Regions from separate parts of the Homo sapiens genome. Here region 1 is linked to region 2. Evidence: promoter capture Hi-C in human tissues and cell types (Jung and others, 2019). All regions are on one chromosome and are shown on one strand. The core of a region is centred on a gene start or on the middle of the fragment in contact, and the rest is flanking DNA. Distances in the headings are between cores, read along the strand shown. Region 1 overlaps SYNAGE (synapse stability regulating cerebellar lncRNA). Region 2 holds the start of ZNF423 (zinc finger protein 423).

The links. The method cuts DNA at HindIII sites, captures the fragments that hold promoters and counts their contacts. A contact is called where the count stands out against the background at its distance.
Region 1: a contact is called between a fragment that was not itself captured here and the fragment with the promoter of ZNF423 in region 2, in 1 of the 25 tissues and cell types used here (lymphoblastoid cells).

The regions. Positions count from the first base shown.
Region 1 is chr16:49,289,383-49,292,185 of GRCh38, forward strand. SYNAGE (synapse stability regulating cerebellar lncRNA) reads left to right here. Exons shown (of 4, transcript XR_933530.4): 3 at 1-273; 4 at 356-2,803. Among named protein-coding and RNA genes, the nearest start is that of SYNAGE, 8.7 kb to the left of the region's middle. The HindIII fragment of the contact is 3,032 bases long and covers 1-2,803 here.
Region 2 is chr16:49,854,501-49,857,478 of GRCh38, forward strand. ZNF423 (zinc finger protein 423) reads right to left here and starts at 1,612. Exons shown (of 8, transcript NM_001379286.1): 1 at 1,235-1,612. The coding sequence starts at 1,274. RefSeq lists a silencer at 856-1,115. The HindIII fragment of the contact is 13,140 bases long and covers 1-2,978 here.

The sequences.
Region 1 (2,803 bases), core at 146-2,645, 570 kb before region 2:
TCCCATTTCATTGTTCATTAGGTGAGAACCCTTTGTTAAGCTGTGTAACCTCTGTGCATAGTTTCCTCATCAGCAAAGTCAGAAAAAGTATGTACCTGAAGGACTGATTGTAAGGCTGGGATGAGAGAATCCATGTGATCAGCCCTCACCAACAGGTGCTGCCCAGTTCATGAGTGCTGCTGCTGTCCTGCCCAAGTACCCAGCTTGCAGAGTGCCAGAGTTAGAGTCCCAGGGGTGTTCTCCACAGCTGCATGCTTGATCCAGGCCTATCAGGTGAGTTGGCTCTTGGCTAGTGGTTTTTCTTCTCTTGCTGTACAAAAGTCCAGACAGTAATGTCTTTTTTTCATTTTTATAGATATATTCCATTGAAAGTCCTCATTCTCAAATTTAAAACAAAGACTTTTTGTGTACCTCAATAGCAATGCACACACAGTTGGCTTCACAAACATATTGTACATTTCTTTTTTTCATATTTATTCAACAAATGTATATTGACTACCCACCGTGTGACAGGTGTTATTTGTTGACGGAACCAGGCATCATCAGCAAACAAAACTGACAAAGCTTCCTGCCCTCTGTGGAAGGCATCTGAGGAAGAGACTGGATTTTGTAGCAACATGTTATTCTCATTATAAACTTTATCATTGGAATACTAAAGCCAAATCATCCCCCATCTCCTTGATCAGGATACCCACTTAATCTAGGCAGCTACACAATTGTGAGAGCCTTTGTTTTTTTCTGCTGAAACATCCTTAAAAAGATACCTCACAACCCAAGATTTGGCTTTTCTTAAATACGATTTTTAATTTTTTTCATTTCTATCTAGAGATTTAATTGGAAATGGAAAATCATCAATTTTCCAATTAAATGTCTGTTCCAATCAACATTATACCTTTTAGGTTGTCATTGTCATTTTTAAGTTTAAGCAACTTTAAGGATTTTGAATCTGGCTGCCTGTAAATTAAAGGTGAAAGTAATCATTGTGTTGGATTGGAACATTTTGTCAATTGAGAGTGGTTTCCTTGTTCTTAGTGTATGAAAAGTTTATTTTTCTAATGTAGATTAATAAAGGAGATAAAGAAAAACAAAATGAGTGATTTATGTGTGTGAGAAAAGAACCATTTCCTCAAGGATTAAATAAAATTCATACCTTTTGTTTCTTTTGAAAAGTTTTTAAAATAAATTTTAATGAATGTGTCCTTTAAATATTCCTTTAAAAATGTATCCTATTTTAAAATGGACTCTCTGAGAGAAGGAATTGATACCTGTGTTTAAAATCAAAAATAGCATGCATAGAGACTGTTTTTCTAGTTGGTTGAAGCTTTTTTCCCTCTCCTTTACATCAGTGAACCAGCATCTTGCCCTTCAGACCCTACAGCACACTCTTGGGCTCATGAAGTGTATGACACATCCTCCTTGGGGGATCGGCCATGTCCTCGCTCTCATGACCACATGAATTCTTCTGTATGTCTTTTCTCACAGCTGAGTACTCTCTTCCTGACCCCCTTGTGGAATGGGGAAAGGAGGCTGTGACATTGTGCTTGTGCAAACAATAATTGAGAGCTTTCCGAGTCTCCTGCATCTTCATAAATGATTTTTTGTTTTATGCTGGGACAGTAGTTCTTTAAATAGAATATTCTCCCATGGAAATCGCCCACAATGCTGAGAGTACACCTTGCAAAAGGTAAGTCTAGAATATAGGGTGCCTCCTCAGCATTGCCCAGAAGCTGAAGTTAGGACTCTCTAGAATACCAAAAACAAATTTATAGCAGTTCATTAATGTAAGGAATTATGAAAACTGTGTGCCACCATTATCCATAGATGAAACAAGAGCCACCACGCAAGCACAGACACAAAGCCCTGAAGATGAAGCCATTGACAGGGCTCTCATTTATTCTGTAGAAACCCACTTGCCTGTTTTTGAACCAGTTTTCTTTGGAGCATATGTCTCACTGTGCAACCAAAGTGGTGTTTATATCCTAGTCACTTGGCAAAAATTCTGTCATTGCTTCAGGGAGATCCATTTTAGGCCTGAAGCATGGAGCTGGTAATAGATGGGATTTGGTACTTCTGAAGAAAAGACCCTACTGCAAATTTAGAGAGTTAATTTTTTCTTTTGTTCCCCATAATATTGTTGCTAGATAGAACTACCTTTTTTGACTAGAAGTTAAATATAGAGGCCTAAATCAATTAGGTAACTCCCACTCATTCTAAATGAGAACATGTTTGTTTTTCTCCAACGAGATGAGAAATATTTGAGGCGCTTCCTGATATCTCTATCACCCACTGCATTTTTTCACTTGATGTATATTTCCCCATGTATTTGGGATAATTTTCAAATAATTGCCCTTTAGAAATCTACTTGATATTAAATGTAAAAAAAAAGCAAGATGCAAAATTATTATAGGATGCATTTACAGAAATTACAAAATTTCTATAAACTATTTATGGAGGAAGACTTATAGAGTATATGTCAACACATTGCTTTATTATTGTCCTTGGTTATGAGTATGGTTTTTTTGAAACCTGCTTTGTACTTTGGGTGTTTTCTCACCATTGGTACAATTGAGGCATTTTTCCCTCTTCTTCAACCTTGCAAATCACACGTGAGGATGCTCATAGAAGTGCCTCTCAGACAGGCTGTTGTTTTGCTTTCACCAATAAATCATTTATAATTAGAAGTAGAAAACTATTCTTTCCAGTGCAAATACATCCCTTTCAAAAGCAGTTCTCTTTTTGTGAATGATGTCTAGTGTCTAAGAAACGAGGGTAACCTTTATTATATGCATTGCTCTAATCGAAG
Region 2 (2,978 bases), core at 362-2,861:
GGGCTCAGGCCAGAGGTCATCAGGGGAGATGGGAGAAGACAAGGGCCTGGGGGCTTTTGGCTCCGTAGACTTAGCCGCTCTCATCGTTCCCCCCTTCCTCGATCATCTCCCATCTCACAGCCGAGCGCCCGGGCACCCAACCGAGGGGCTAGAATCGGGACAAAGCAGCAGGCAAGGCCTGGAAAGGCCAGCCGCGGGGAGAGGAGGCCAGGGGAGGGGCTCTGCTGCCGGCGCGCGGCCTTTCCCCGGGGCCTCTACTCTCCAGGGGTCCCCTCGAGCTGGGGGCCCTCGCTGGAAATAGAAAGCAAAGCGTGGAGACGAAGGGATGGGTGTGTGTATCTATATATCTGCAGCTCCCCACAAACGCGCGCACCCCGGGGAGCCAGCACAGAAAGCCGGCCTGGGTGTCGAGGGTGCCGGTGCCCGGGGTCAGATCCAGGGTGCCGGTGCCCGGGGTCAGATCCGGGGCGCCCTCCGCGGAGGGGCGCGCACCGCGGCCGCTGAGCTCCCCTGAGGACCTGCGTCCCGCCGGCGCCGTGCAGACAATGAACTCCTGGCGGAGGCTCCCTGCCCGGTGGGCCTCGGTGGAGGAGGCAGGAAGTGCAGGGGCCCGGGCCGGGAGAAGGCCTGGGCAGGGGCGGGAGGGGGCGCCAGGCGGCCGGGGCGAGGGCGCGGCGCCCGGGGCGCTCGCCGACAGCGCCCGCCGCTCCCCGCGTCCTCGGGCGACCAGGCAGGGGCCAGAGAGAGCCAGCGAGGCCCGGGGCCAGCGAGGAGCGGTCGGCCTGCCGGGCGCCCGTCCTCGCCGCCTCTTCCTTCCTCCTGTCGCCCGCCCGCCGCCGCCGAGATTCGCAATCCCCGCCAAGTCGGGCCAGCACCCCTTGATTGGCCACACGGGCCCGGGCCCCGCACGGAGGGAGCGGCAAGGGCCCCTTAGCGGCGCCCCCAGGCCTGGGTCCCCCAAGGGCGACGGCGCCGAGTCCGGGCAGGGAGGGTGTCCGCGGCGTACCCCCTCCGCCGCCGCCGCCGCCGCCGCCGCCTCCGCCTCCTGCTCCCGGCTTCCTCCTCCCCCTCCTCCGCCTCCGCCTCCGCCTCCGCCTCCTCTGCCGCCTCCTCCTCCTCCTCTCGGCTCGCTCGCGCGGGTCCCCGGCAGCCAGCCCGCTCGCCGGTCCCTCCTCCCTCGCTCCCTCCCTCCTCGCTCGCTCGCTCGCGCCTCCGCCGGGCCTCGCTCGCTCACCTTTCACCGAGCGCGGCTTCGCCTGCTTCCGCCTGGACATGTCCGGGGCTCCGGGCGCTCCGTCGCCCTCCGCAGCCGGCTCCCCCCGCCGCCCCCCGCCGCTCCGGGCAGCCCTTCTCCCCCTTCTCCTCCGCCTGTCTCTTGGAAACTTTTTTTTTTGCAGCCCGGTTGGCGGCTGTGGGGAGCGGACCGCAGGTCCGGGGCGGCCTCCCTTGGGGGGGCAGCCCGGGCCGGCCGAGGCCGCTCGAAGGCGGGGGGAGGCCCGGGGGGCGCGCCGGGGCCCTGCCTGTTGCAATGCGGCAGTCCGGGGCTCCCGATCCAAGCGGCGGTCCCAGCGGCGCGGGGAGTCCGGAGGCCACTCGGCCGAGCCGAGTTATGCAAAAAAAAAAAAAAAAAAAAAAAAAAAAAAGCCGCCCCCCTCCTCCTCCCAACCCCCCGCCGGCCCCCGGCCCCTGCGGCCCCCTCCTTCCCTCCCCCACCCTACCGCCACCCTCACCCTCCTCCTCCTTCTCCTCCTCCTCCGCCCCTTGCCGGATTTTTGTGCAAAGTTTGCAGGCGTCCGGCCACGCAGCCCGGTGCGGAGCTCACAATGAACCCATCTGAGGAGGGGGAACGGGGCTGGAGTCGAGGGTATCTCAAGGGGGGAGGAGACCGGGAGGCGGTCGGGAGCGCGGAAGCTCAGTACCCCCCAGGAAAAAAAAAAAAAAGAAGCCTTCGAATTATCCCCTGCCGCACAAAAAAAAATAATAAATATTAATGGCTCAAAAATGCCCAAGCGCCTGGTTTGGAGATTATGATGGATGGGGGGCGGGGGTCCCTCAACTCAGCCTACTTGGAGGGGAGGCTCGAAACGGCCGCAGTGGCTCGGAAGCCGCGGCTCGGGGCCCCTGGCTCACGCCCCCTTCTCTGGCTCTCGGATCGGCCCGGCGCCGGCCCCCCGGAGGAGGAAGGGGCGCGCGGGGGCGCTCAGGCGGCGGCCGGCAGGCGCGCCCGTGCCCCGGGCATCGCTCAGCCCGTGCGCCGGGCCGCCGCTGCCTGCCCTCGGGCTGCGGTGCTCAGCGCGAGGCGCGCAGCCGATCCCCAGGCCGGTGCCAAGTCGCCGGCCCCGCTAGCTGCCTCCATGGGCCAGGGGCTCGGAGAGGGGGGAGGCGGCGGCCGCGGTGGCGGAAGAGGAGGACGAGCAGGCGGCGGCGGCGGCGGCCGGGCTCCCGTCCTCCTGGGCAGCGGCGGCGGCGGCTGCGCCCCGGCTCCTCCGCGCTCCAGCCGGCGCCGGCCCGCCCGCCAGCCTCCCTCGCGCTCCTGTCTTCTTTGTGGTCGCTGGCTCTCCTCCTCCCGATCCGGCTGCTGGGGCTGCACTGCAGAGACACATAATAAAGCCAGGCTTGGCTGGAAATGTAGCCGGGTCCCAGCAGGAGGATGTGAGGAGCGGAGTCCCGGCGGGGGAGCGCTCTGATCCCGTGGGGCGCCCCGCACTGCTCCGGCTCGGATCAGACGGAGAGAGGGCCAACAGCACCGAGCGATGGACAGCGCTGGAAATACAGCTCCGGCCGCCCGCAAAACCCGGACCGTGGTGGCGGCGGCGGCGGCGGCGGCAGGCACGGCGCGGGCGCGGGCACCGCACCAGCACGCGGGGCCGGGGCTCGGGCGCTGGCTGCACCGGGGGCAGGAGGAGGGAACACACTTAGGGCCCACGCGGCTGTCAAGCTCGCCAAGACGCATGAGCCTCACAAACTGTAAAAAGTGA